Regions from separate parts of the Homo sapiens genome. Here region 2 is linked to region 1. The links are contacts of gene promoters, found by promoter capture Hi-C in human tissues and cell types (Jung and others, 2019). All regions are on one chromosome and are shown on one strand. Each heading gives the region's core, a stretch centred on a gene start or on the middle of the fragment in contact. The rest is flanking DNA. Distances are from core to core; before and after follow the strand shown.

What was found. Contacts are between HindIII fragments. The study calls those that stand out against the background at their distance.
Region 2: a contact is called between a fragment that was not itself captured here and the fragment with the promoter of SLC23A2 in region 1, in 2 of the 25 tissues and cell types used here (liver and spleen).

Annotation. Positions count from the first base shown.
Region 1 is chr20:4,996,217-5,003,078 of GRCh38, reverse strand. It overlaps SLC23A2 (solute carrier family 23 member 2), which reads left to right and starts at 1,569. Exons shown (of 17, transcript NM_005116.6): 1 at 1,569-1,673. RefSeq lists enhancers at 1-239, 1,024-1,173, 4,081-4,581, a promoter at 1,482-1,680 and silencers at 1,464-1,703, 1,894-2,053. The HindIII fragment of the contact is 14,848 bases long and covers 1-2,255 here.
Region 2 is chr20:5,100,447-5,107,308 of GRCh38, reverse strand. TMEM230 (transmembrane protein 230) reads left to right here. Exons shown (of 4, transcript NM_001009925.2): 3 at 999-1,121; 4 at 6,378-6,862. The coding sequence ends at 6,518. Among named protein-coding and RNA genes, the nearest start is that of TMEM230, 9.2 kb to the left of the region's middle. The HindIII fragment of the contact is 4,633 bases long and covers 1,031-5,663 here.

The sequences.
Region 1 (6,862 bases), core at 320-2,819:
CATCTTCAACGGGGATCAAAACATTCGACATTATTGAATTTTGCAATCCAACACTTTCTTTTCCCTACTTACTGAATCCCAGTAGGGATTGTGAACTTCAAATATCTGAGACAGGTCTCAGTCAAATTAGAAGGTTCATTTTGTCAAGGTTAAGGATGGGCGCCCGTGACGCATAAAACCAAGCTTAGCTGGACCTGGTGGTGTGGTCCTGTCATCCCAGCTACTTAGGAGGCCAAGGTTGGGGGATCCCTTGAGCCTGGAAGGTTGATGCTGCAGCCTTAATTGTGCCGTTGCACTCCAGCCTGGGTGACAGAGTGAGACCTTGTCTCTAAAAAATTAAATATAAGCAAATAAAAATGCAGTTATTAGATAAATAAATGGGAAGACACATTATTGTCAAGACACAGACCACACTTGCCTATTTCATAAAATTCCTTTAGTTGCTGCTCCCCCAACTGCATTAATATGTGTGATGTCACTTTCCAAAACTGTGTAAAACACATAAATAATTCTGATTATAAAATCAATTTCTCTCCATGTGAGGTCAGACAGACACCGTCTACAATTCTGTTTCTCAAGAGTTGCCCGGGAACTAGTACATTATCATTCAGTTAGTAAAGCAACCATGACAACGGTTTCAAGATGGAAGGTGTTAAGAAAGTACTAATTATTAGAACATTTAAAAAATTGTATTCAGATTTCAGCAGTGGCTCAATACGTGTGGTCCCCAGACCAGTAGCATCAGCATCACCTGGGAACTTGGCAGAAATGCAGATTCTGGAGCCTCACGCCAGACCTCCAGCCTTAGCAACTCTGGGGGTGGGGCCCAGCCATCTGCATCTTAATGAAGTCCTCAAAGTGAGGCTGCCCAGCTCTAAGACCGAGGGCCAGGGATTTACACTTGGCCTTTCTGCTTAGCGGTCCAAGAACCTCACCCGGGGGCATCACCTGGGGACAATTTAGAAGTGCAGACTTTTGGGCTGCACCCCAGAGCCACTGAATGTGAACCCGCCCCTAGCCTAACACGACCCCCAGAGAATTCACGTCTGAAAAGCCTTGGTCTGTATTACGATCTCTGCATGAGGTAAGAAGGACTTCTTCTCCAGTTAGGTTAAAAAAACTGGCTACCTAAGTGGAGAAGCGGTGAAATTGTTTTAAAACATCCAACCCACTGAGCCCAATGCACCACAAACTGCTTGCTTATCACGCTCGAGCAATGACAGGGCTCGGTGGCAGGCGGGGTAAAAAGGGGGGACCTGGACCAGGACACTCAGGGACCAGCGCTCTGCTTGCCAGGTGGGTCCCCAGGAACAGGTGTGACTGGTGGGAAGGGTCGCGAAGGGGGGCGATCTTTCTGCGCAGGGGAGGGAAATGAAAGGAACGGGAAGGGGACGGCTGGGTGCGAGGCCCGGGATGTTCCGGGGAGCGCTGCCGGGTGCCAGGGAGCAGCCCCTCCCCGGGGGGAGGCCCGAGGGCAGGGGTCGGGGGCGGGGAGGGAGGTGGGCCCCAGACCGGCGCGGGGGCGGGCGGCTCCGCTGCACCCCGCCCCCGGCCCGCCCCTCCGCGGCGCCATTTTGCAGGCGGCTGTCGCGGGGACCGGAGGCGGAGGCTGCAGCGGGCACTGCGGCGCCGAGGCGCGGCGGCAGGACGGGAACCACGCGAGCTGCAGCCAGGTGAGAGCCCGGCCGCCGCGCCCCCTGCCCGGCCTGCGGGCCGCACCTGCCGGCGGGGCCGCGAGGTGCTCGCCGCGCCCACGAGGCCGGCCTGGCACGGCCCCCGCGCGCTGTCACCCACCGGCCCCGCGGCGCGGCCTGCGCGCCCCCACCCCGACCCATCTCCCGGGACCCCGCGCCCGCCGGCCACCCTGGCCCCGGGGCCCAAGATGCCCGGCGGCCCTCAGCTCCTGCCGTTCTGCCGGCCGGGCCGGGCCCCCGGGGTACCCACCCCTTCCCGCCACGGGAGCCACAGCGCGCTCGGGCCCTCAGGCCGCGCAGCGGGGAGGCAAATGGGGCGCCCCCAGAACCCCACTGGCTGCCGCCGCCTCCTCCCGGGCTCTGCGCCCGCGCGTCCTGGGGTCGCTTCCCTCGCCCCTCCCCCGGTGGTGCGCACGGGCATCGTCTCGCCCCCTGGAATTCAGGGGCATCAGGAGGGGCGGCAAGAGGGTGCCTTTTACATTCTTGCTTTCTTCCCTTCTACAAAGACTGCGCGAAGTAATTTTAGAAGCAGCTCCTCCGACCCCGGGGCCTTTCTGGCCTGTTCCCTGGGGGGTCGCGAGTCCCCCTCCTTGCCACCTTTCGGGGGGAAAAAATGACATTTCGAGTGTGACTACTTTAAGGCGCAGGATTTTCTCCTTCGTTTGGTCCTAGATGCCCCCCCTTGGATGGGTGGCTGATAGGATGTCGGCCTGCAGGCTGGGGGTTTAAGCGTGACTGATGGGAAATTATCGATTGTCAGGGCAAAGGGTAAATGAGGGCAACTGCAGGTGGAAGAAAGTCACCCATAAGGGCTTTCTGGGTCTGCAGCGTTTGTAGTAGGTGCTACTTCTATTCTTGCAGTGCTGGGAGACGGGCGGGGGAAGATGCAGTCCCTGCTGACAATTGGGTCATCTGCGCGCAGAGAAGGCCCCGGGATGTGCGAGGACATGGGACTGGGAGTCCGGAGGCAGTCTGGTTTGAGCTGTCACTAATTGGCCATGTGACCTCCCTCAGCCGGCTTCGTCCTCTCTGAAGCAAAAGGCTGGAATTGGGGTGGCTGGAGCATTTTTATTTTATGCTTTTGTATTTGAATGCTGTTGGGTTTGGGCCTCACCGTTTCTGGTTGTCTACACCTGCCTTTTTCACCGTTGCAGGTGACGTTGCCTGCCTCCCCTGAAGGTGTTTGAACCTGGTGAGATGTATAAAGGGCCCTTTTCAGCTCAAAAAATCAGAATTCTGTGCTGGGTTATGGTTGGCTCTATCAGGGTCACTTATGAACGTATTACTACTGTTCTCTTTTCATTCATCCCCAATTTAATGGCTTTTGGGCACCAGTGGGTGTGCCCAGTGTAAGCTCTCATGGCACACCTGCTAGTTAAAGGGAGGCAGCAGGTGTGTCCAGCCTGTTCCATGTGACATCCTGAGCATGAGGTATCTGCTTTCTAGGCTATTTCCTTTGCCAAAATGGCAACCAGCTTCTTTCTTTTAATACCAAGGCATTTCTCTTTTGGTTTCTTTGCTTAGAGTGGAGGGTGATTTTTTAAGACAATAGGTATTTCAGGAACTTTTTATGTTGACAGTATTTTAGATGGTTGTCTGGCAGTTGTATTCTCTGACTGTGGCACGGTCAATTAAGTCAATTAAGTTTAAACATCTGTTGACATGTTTAAAAAATGCCTATTGAAGTACCTGGGCCGGGTGTTGTGGTTCACACCTGTAATCCCAGCACTTTGGGAGGCTGAGGTGGGAGGATTGTTTGAGGCCAAGAGTTCAAGACCAGCCTAGGCAACCCAGCAAGACTCCTGTTTCTATAAAAAAAAAAAAAAAATAGCTGAGTATGGCGGCCAGCTTAAAAAAAACCAGTACCTGGCTAGAAAAATGTAGATGGTTTTGCTAGGTTTCATGCCATACTATCTATCTCATTGATGGAGCAAACTCTAGTCTATGTAGCATTGCAGAAGTGAGTCATGTGTCCCGGGGCAGGCAAGCACATGTAGCCACCCACTGAGTAGTCTGTCCATCTGTGTCTGCCCATCCATCCATCCACTTGGTGACCAGGTTCTGTTGAACAGATCGTTGTTGAATAAACTGTGTCTTTTGCCCTCACAGAGCCTAAGGTCTAGTTTGTGGGGTGTTTGAAATCCCGAATTGGCTATTGTTGTCCTCTTCAGTGTCTCTAAAGACAAACCAGGGATCTATTTGGGGACCTATATTCTGGTACCACTGGTAGCTTGAGGAATTTTCCCATTTTGGTTAAGGTAATTAAAAGCAGTAGGCCGGGGCTGGGCATGGTGGCTCATGCCTGTAATCGCAGCACTTTGGGAGGCTGAGGCGGGCAGGTCGCTTGAGCTCAGGAGTTCGAGAGCAGCCTGGCCACCATGGTGAAACCTCGTCTCTACTAAAAATACAAAAGTTAGCCGGGCATGGTGGCGCATGCCTGTATTTCCGGCTACTCAGGAGGCTGAGGCAGGAGAATCGCTTGAACCTGGGAGGTGGAGTTTGCAGTGAGTCGAGATCGTGCCACTGCACTCCAGCCTGGGTGACAGAGTGAGACTGTCTCCTAAAAAAAAAAAAAAAAAGATCAACAGTAATGATTTGAAATTATATGGTGCTTTGTACATGTAAATTGAAGCTTTTTAAAAACGTATTTATATTTAATCCTCTTAGGCTTTTTAAATTTAAACATCTTACAGTCCTTCCTGAACCGTTTCCTGGCCTTGCCCATAAAACTCTCACACACCAGTCTGTTGGTTCCCAGTGCCCAGTAACCTCACCTCATTAATTCATTTTCATGCCCTGCTATTCCTCCAGTTGTTCTCTGGGCTTGCTTTTATTCTTTCTGTAGGGAACCATCCTCCTCCAGGTTAAGCTGTGCATTGCAGCCTCTAGGTTGAAACGAGCCCTTTGTGCGCTATGCCGTTCTTCTCATTTTCTCTGTGGCTTTGCTATTTTGAACCTGTTATTTCGTCACAGGTTCTAGGTTCTTGGCTCTCCTGTAATTGAGGTCTGCTTTCAGCTTGCACCTTTCATAGGCCTTTCATACATTTATTACATTGAGTGCCTGATCTGTGCTGGGTAATATTCTTGGTGCTTGGGATGCTGCAGGGAGATTCCCAGCCCACATGGAGCCCACACTGTAGGGATGTGGACAATGAGATCTGGTTCTGTGAAGAGGAATCTGACAAGGCTCGGGGGATTAAGTGTGGGGATGGGAGTTGATATTTTTGGAAGGGTAGACAGGGAGGAAGGTATATGAGTCTGCTAACACTGCCATAACAAAAATAGCACAGTGTGGGTGGCTTAAACAACGGAAATTTGTTTCGTATAATTCTGGAGTCTGGGAAGTCCAAGGTCAAGGTTCTGGCCTCTTTAGTTTCTGGTGAGGGCTTTCTTCCTGGCTTGTAGGTGGCCATCCTCTTGATGAGTCCTCACATGGCCTTTTCTTGGTGCCATTTATCTTTCTGTTCAAGCACTGTTGGTCACACCTGTAATCCCAGCACTTCAGGAGGCTGAGGCAGGAGGATCACTTGAGACCAGTCTAGGCAACATAATAAGACTCTGTCTCTACAAAATAAAATAAAATAAAATAAAAAATTCGCTGGACGTGGTAGTAGTGCCTGTAGTCCCAGCTACTCAGGAGGCTGAGGTGGGAGGATTGCTTGAGCCCAAGAGGTTGAGGCTGCAGTGAGCCATGATTGTGCCACTGCACACCAGCCTGGGTGACAAAGCTACTTTGTTTAAAAAAATAAAGTTTTCCTATTGGATCAGGGCCCCATCCTTAAGAACTCATTTAAACTTGGTTACCTCCTAAAGGCTCTATCTCTAAATACAGCCACATTGTGGGGGTAGGGCTTCAATATAATGAATTCTTTCGGTGGTGGTGGGGGATACAGTTGAGTTCATAGCAGAGGGCTTGAGTCATTTTTAACTAAAGATGTGTAGGGAGTGAGGCATGTGGAGATCTGGGAGAAGGATCATTCTGAGGGGAGGAAACAGCAGATACAAAGGCCCTGAGGCAGGAGGAGGGGAGAATTTGGTCTTGAGGTCAGAGAAACCATGGGGGTCAGATCATGTAAGGCCATGCGGACCACTGTAAGGCTGGTAGATTTTACCTTGAGGGTGGTAGAAGCCATTGGAGGGTTTTGGAGTAAAGAAGGGAGGTGGACTGATCTAGCTTTTAGCAAGCACACTCTAGGCGTTGCTGTGTGAGACAGATTGAAGGCAGGACAGCAAGGAGACCAGCCAGAATGCAGGGCTGAGGGGAGACTAGTGGGATTTCAAGGTGAGGTTGAGATTTGCTGATGAACCAGAAAGAAAACTGAGGAGGACTCCGAGGTTCTGGTCTTAGCACCTAGAAAGAAAGAGGCCATTAACTGAGATGCTGGAGGAGCTGGTTTAGGCCATGTTAAGTTGTGATGCCAACCCAGCATACCCAAATGCAGCAGAAAAGCAAGGGTGGAGATTTTTGGGGAAGGTCATCCTCAATGGAAATATAAATCTTGGGAGCTTCTCATTGTCCTTTGTCCCAATTTTCGACTTTGACCTCAGGTGACCTCAGCCAAGTCTGTGACCTCAGATCTAGGTGTCTCTAAGGCCCTCTATGGAAATTCCATCCTTAAAGGAGAGTGGTTTTCTCTGGTCAGTGATCAGGAAAATCTTCACTCATGAGTTGTTGTTTTTTTTTTTTTTTTTTTTTTTTGAGATGGAATCTTGCTCTGTCACCTAGGCTGGAGTGCAGTGGTGTGACCTCGGCTCATTGCAACTTCTGCCTCCCGGGTTCAAGGGATTCTCCTGCCTCAGCCTCCCAAGTAGCTGGGATTATGGGTGCATACCACTGTACCCGGCTAATTTTTGTATTTTTAGTAGAGATGGTGTTTCACCATGTTGGCCAGCCTGGTCTCAAACTCCTGACCTCGTGATCCGCCCACCTTGGCCTCCCAAAGTGCTGGGATTACAGGCATGAGCCACCGTGCCTGGCCCACTCATGAGTTTTGCCCACTCATGAGTTTTGCTCAAAGCAGCTGATGGCTCGGGCTTCCTTCCCAAAGGCATCATCTCATTGAGCACCTGGTGGAGGTCATCCATCTATGTGTGTAACTCTTACAGAGATGAATCCCTCTATCTTCTAAGTTGAATGGAAGTGCAGTTTGATAAGGTGCGCTTCTCTG
Region 2 (6,862 bases), core at 2,098-4,597, 100 kb before region 1:
TTGTATTTGAAACAGGCTCTGGCTCTGTCACCCAGGCTGGAGTGCAGTGGTGCAATCTCAGCTCGCTGCCTCTTCACCTCCTGGGCTCAAGCCATCCTCCCAGCTTAGCGTCCCAAGTAGCCGGGACTGCAGGCACATGCCACCACGCCCGGCTAATTTTTGTATTTTTTGTAGAGACGAGGTTTCACCATGTTGCTCAGGCTGGTCTCAAACTCCTGAACTCAAGTGATCCGCCTGCCTCAGCCTCCCACATTGCTGGGATTACAGGTGCGAGCTCTCCTCCCTGTTTTAAAGTGTTTGAGACTGGGCTTGATGGCTTATACCTGTAATCCCAGCACTTTGGGAGGCAGAGGTGGAAGGACTCCCTTGAGCCCAGGAGTTGGAGACCACCCTGGGCAACATAGTGAGACCTCGTCTCTACAGAAAAATTTAAAAATTAGCTGGGCATGGTGACGTATACTTGTAGTCCCAGCTACTTGAGAGGATGAGGCAAGAGAATTGCTTGAGCCCAGGAGTTCGAGGCTGCAATGAGCTGTAATTGCACCACTGCACTCCAGCCTGGGTGATAGAGCAAGACTCCGTCTCTAAAATCATAAAAATTAGGCCGGGCGCGGTGGCTCACGCCTGTAATGCCAGCACTTTGGGAGGCCGAGGCGGGCGGATCACCTGAGGTCAGGAGTTCAAGCCCAGCCAGGTCAACAAGGTGAAACCCTGTCTCTACTAAAAATACCAAAAAAATTAGCTGGGTGTAGTGGCGGGCACCTGTAACCCCAGCTGCTCAGGAGGCTGAGACAGGAGAATCACTTGAATCCAGGAGGCAGAGGTTGCAGTGAGCCAAGATCACGCCATTGCTCTCTAGCCTGGGCAACAAGAACGAAACTCCATCTCAAAACAAACAAACAAAAACATAAAAATTACAAATAATTAATTAAATGTTTGAACCCAGGTATTTGCATTAATGTTCTTCGTTGTCTTTTTCATCTCTATTTCTCTTCCAGTTTAAGAAAACCCCTCCTAAGATCCCTTATAAGGCCATCGCACTTGCCACTGTGCTGTTTTTGATTGGCGCCTTTCTCATTATTATAGGCTCCCTCCTGCTGTCAGGCTACATCAGCAAAGGGGTAAGCTGACGGGCATGTGGGAATAAGTTGTGAGATTTTTAAAATGTTAGCCAAGGCTCTAGTGTGCGTGTGTGTGTGTGTGTGTGTGTGTGTGTGTGTGTGTGTGTGTTTGTCCGTCCCAGTGGTCTGTTTTTTTTGAGACAGGGTCTTGCTCTGTCATCCAAGCTAGAGTGCAGTGGCACAACCTTTACCTCCCTGGGCTCAAGCGATCCTCTCACCTCAGCCTCCCGAGTAGCTGGGACTACACGTGTGTGCCACCACACCCAGCTAATTTTATTTTTTATTTACTTATTTTTGTTTGTTTTATTTTGTGTAGAGACAGGGTTTCACTATGTTGCCCAGGCTGATCTCTAACTCCTGAGGTCAAGCAGTCTGCCTGCCTCAGCCTTCCAAAGTGCTGGGATTGCAGGTGTGAACCATTGCCCCTGGCCAATTTTTTTTCCAATTTTTATGGGTACATAGTAGGTGTATATACTTAGGGGATACATGAGGTATTTTGATACAGCCATGCATTCATAATAATCACATCAGGCTAAATGGGGTATCCATCCCCTCAAGCATTCATCATTTGTATTACATTCCAATTATACTTTTATTTATTTATTTATTTTGAGACAGAGTCAGGCTGGAGTGCAGTGGCATAATATCGGCTAACTGCAACCTCCGCCTCCCAGGTTCATGCTATTCTTGTGCCTCAGCCTCCCGAGTAGCTGGAATTACAGACGTGCGCCACCGCACCCGGCTAATGTTGGTATTTTTAGTAGAGATGGGGTTTCGCCATGTTGCCCAGGCTGGCCTCCCAAAGTGTTGGGATTACAGGCATGAACCACTGTGCCTGGCCTATTTTTAGTTATATATATACATATACACATACATACATACATACATATATATATATTTTGGAGACAGAGTCTTGTTCTGTCACCCAGGCTGGAGTGCAGTGGCAGGATCTCAGCTCACTGCAAACTCCGGCTCGTGGGTTCAAGTGATTCTCCTGCCTCAGCCTCCTGAGTTAGCTGGGACTATGGTGGCAAGCCAGCACACTTGGCTTATTTTTGTATTTTTAGTAGAGATGGGTTTTTGCCATGTTGGCCAGGCTGGTCATGAACTCCTGACCTCAAGCGGCCTGCCCGCGTGGGCCTCCTAAAGTGCTGGGATTACAGGCGTGAGCTACCACGTCCAGCCTTAGTTATTATATTTTTAAATGTACAATAAATTATTCTCTAGTCACTTTGTGCTATCAAATACTAGAGCTTATTCATTCTATGTAACTATATTTTGTACCCGTTAACCTTCCCCATTCCCCCCTACCTTTCCCAGCCTTTGGTAACCATCATTCTACAATATCCATGAGTTCAATTGTTTTAATTTTTAGTTCCCGCAAATGAGTGAGAACATGGAAAGTGTGTCTTTCTGTGCCTGGCTTAATTTCACTTAACATAACGTTCTCCAGTTTCATCCATGTTGTTGCAAGTGACAGGATCTCATTCTTTTTAGTGGCTGAATAGTACTCCATTGCATATATGTACCATATTTTCTTTATTCACTTGTCTGTTGAAGAACACTTTGGTTGCTTCCAGATCTTGGCTGTTGTGAATAGTGCTGTCATAAATATGGAAGTGCAGATACCTCTTTGATAAACTGATTTCCTTTCTTTTGGGTATATACCTAGCTGTGATTGCTGGATCATATGGTAGTTCTATTTCATACTGTTCTCCATAGTGGCTATACTAATTTACATTCCCATCAACATTGTACGAGGGTTCCCTTTTCTCCACGTCCTCGCTAGCATTCGTTATTGCCGTTTTTTTTGGATAAAAGCCATTTTGGCTGGGTGCAGTGGCTCACGCCTGTAGTCCCAGCACTTTTGGAGGCCGAGGCAGGAGGATCACTTGAGCCCAGGAGTTCGAGACCAGCCTGCGCAACATAGCGAGACCTTGTGTCTATATTTTTTAAAAAGCCATTTTAACTAGGATGAGATGATATCTCATTGTAGTCTTGATTTGCATTTCTTTGATCAATGATGTTAAGCACCTTTTCATATACCTATTTGCCATTTGTATGTCTTCTTTTGAGAAATGCCCATTTTTGATTGGATTATTAGATTTTTTTTCCTACAGAGTTTGAGCTCCTTATATATTCTGGTTATTAATTCCTTGTCAGATGGATACTTTGCATATATTTTTTCCCATTCTGTGGGTTGTCTCTTCCTTTGCTGTACAGAAGCTTTTTAACCGGATGTGATCTCATTTATCTGTTTTTGTTTTGGTTGCTTGTGCTTTTGGGGGCATTACTCAAGAAATCTTTGCCCAGTCCAGCATCCTGGAGAGTTTCCCCCATGTTTTCTTATAGTAGTTTCATAGTTTTAGGTCTTACATTTAAGTGTTTAATCCATTCTCATTTGATTTTTGTATATGTCAAGAGATTTGAGGGGTCTAGTTTCATTCTTCAGCATATGGATATCCAGTTTTCCTAATACCATTTATTGAAAAGACTGGTTCTTTCCCCAGTGTATGTTTTTTTGTTTTTTGGTTTTTTTGTTTGTTTTTTTTTTTTTGAGACAGAATCTCACTGTGTCATCCAGGCTGGAGTGCAGTGGCACCATCTCGGCTCACTGCAACCTCAGCCTCCCAAATAACTGGGACCACAGGCATGTGCCACCACACTTGGTTAATTTTTTTTTCATTTTTTGTATAGATGAGGTTTTGCCGTGTTGCCCAGGCTGATCTCGAACTCCTAGACTCAAGCAGTCCAGGAGTACAGTGGTGTGATCACAGCTCTCTGCAACCTCAATCTTCAGGGCTCAGTCGATCCTCCCACCTCAGCTTCCCAAGTAGCTGGAGTTACAGGTGTGAGTCACCATACCTAGCTAATTTTTTTGTTTGTTTGGTAGAGATGAGATCTCATTATGTTGCCCAGGCTGGTCTTAAACTCCTAGGCTCAAGCAATCCTCCTGCCTCAGCCTCCCAAAGTGCTGGAATTACAGGCTTTAGCCACTGCACCCCTCTGACTATGTTTCCCGTTGTGTGTTAATTATGGTCAGTGTGAGGCCCACCCTAGCCTCCCAAAGTACTGGGATTACAGGCGTGAGCCACCACACCCGGTGGATGTAGAATTTTATCAAATGCTTTTCTAGCATCGATTGAAATAATCATATGGTTTTTGTCCTTCATTCTGCTGATACGATTTTATCACATTGATTGGTTTGTATAAGTTGAACCATCCTTGCCTCTCTGGGATAAATCCCACTTGGTCCTGATGAATGATCTTTTTAATGTATTGTTGAATTCAGTTTGCTAGTATTATCCTCCTTATTGAGGATTTTTGCATCAATGTTCATCAGGGATATTGGCCTATTTTTGTTTTTTCGATGTGTCTTTGCCTAGTTTTGGTATCAGGGTAAAACTGGCCTAGTAGAATCAGTTTGGAAGTATTCTCTCCATGTCTGTTCAGAATAGTTTCAGTAGGATTAGTATTCTTTTTTTTTTTTTTTTTTTTTGAGACAGGGTCTCATCTGTCATGCAGGTGTAGTGCAGTGGTGCGATCTCAGCTCACTGCAACCTTTGCCTCCCCGGCTTATGTGATCCTGCCACCTCAGCCTCACTAGCAACTGGGACCACAGGCATATACCACCATGCCCATCTAATTTTTGTATTTTTTGTCAAGACAGGATTTTACCATGTTGACCAGGCTGGTCTTGAAATCCTGAGCTCAAGCGATCTGCCTGCCTTGGCCTCCCAAAGTGCTGGGATTACAGGAGTGAACCACCATGCCCAGCCAAGTATTAATTCTTTAACTGGTATAATTCAGCAGCGAAACCATCTAGTCCCAGGCTTCTCTCTGCTAAGAGACTTTTTATTATGGCCTTAATCTCATTACTCTTTGTCTATTCAGGTTTTAGATTTTTTTCATTGTTCAATCTTTGTTTTTATATTCATGTCTGGTACAGCAGATTCCAGCAGAAAAACCAAAAAGATTTTCTTTTACATTTTGTTCTCTGTTGGCAAAACATGTTTTTCTTCCTTTGAGCAACAGTAAACTTCCATAGTTCCTATAGGGGAGGTGGTGGCAGGTAGGCAAACTTGGCCTCTGAGATATTAGACAGTTTGCCCTGTCATAGTTTGGAACAACATGGCTGAGCCTGGCATACAGGAGTCCTGATTGGTAAAGGGCTGTAGCTGGAGCAGCATGCTGTCATTGTAGCTGTGCAGTGCCATGGACATACTGTCAGTATTTGGAGAGAAATAGCAATTCTGTTATATGTGTGGGGTCACTGTGCCTCGTAAGTCAGTTCCTTCTTACAGTAGGTTTGGTTGGAGTTCCTGTTGAGCTTCAATATGAAACCTTAGAAACCTAAAGTAGTTGGTGGTTCTTTCTCATGGGCTGTCCCCACATACACAGTGTCCAAGTTGTCTTGAACCAATTCTGACTATAATTAACACACAACAGGGAACACAGCCAGCCAGGTGCAGTGGCTCAAGCCTATAATTCTAGCATTTTGGGAGGCTGAGGCAGGAGGATTGCTTGAGCCCCAGAGTTCGAGACCAGCCTGGGCAACATAGCGAGACCTCATCTCTACCAAACAAACAAATGTACAAAATGAGCCAGGTATGGTGACTGACACCTGTAACTCCAGCTACTTGGAGGCTGAGGTGGGAGGATCACTTGAGCCTGGGAAGTCGAGGTTGCAGTGAGCTGTAATCACACCACTGTACTCCAGCCCGAGCAACAGAGCAAGACTCTTACCTCAAAAAAAAAGAAAAAAGAGAAAGAAAAGAAAACCTGAAAGGCTGAGAAAAACACAGAGTTTATTGTAGTGGTATCTGTACAATTACAAAAGGTGAAAAACAACCAAAGTGTCCAGCAGCTGTATGTGGGGCAGTTAGGTAAAACTGTAGTATGTCCATTTCGGTGGAATGTTACACATCCTTACAGTTTAAATGTATGAAAAGGTTTTAATAATATTGGCCACAGGACACAGAGTATGGTGTGTTCACAACTAAGAGCTTTAAAAAAAGGAAAAGAAGCCAAAATATCTGGATGAGAATGGGTCATTTTTTTCTTTATAATTGTTAATATTTTGTAGTTTGTCTTCAATTTATAATCAGGAGGAAACCTTTTCCCTTGGTGGTATACAACTCAAAGAAAAAGTACTGAAGAGTATAAAATACTGATCTAAGGATTAGGTCTGTGACGTTTTATTTTAAAATGTGTAACTCTTACGGTACTAATGTGTTTGCCTCCTTCTGCCACCAGGGGGCAGACCGGGCCGTTCCAGTGCTGATCATTGGCATTCTGGTGTTCCTACCCGGATTTTACCACCTGCGCATCGCTTACTATGCATCCAAAGGCTACCGTGGTTACTCCTATGATGACATTCCAGACTTTGATGACTAGCACCCACCCCATAGCTGAGGAGGAGTCACAGTGGAACTGTCCCAGCTTTAAGATATCTAGCAGAAACTATAGCTGAGGACTAAGGAATTCTGCAGCTTGCAGATGTTTAAGAAAATAATGGCCAGATTTTTTGGGTCCTTCCCAAAGATGTTAAGTGAACCTACAGTTAGCTAATTAGGACAAGCTCTATTTTTCATCCCTGGGCCCTGACAAGTTTTTCCACAGGAATATGTATCATGGAAGAATAGAGGTTATTCTGTAATGGAAAAGTGTTGCCTGCCACCACCCTCTGTAGAGCTGAGCATTTCTTTTAAATAGTCTTCATTGCCAATTTGTTCTTGTAG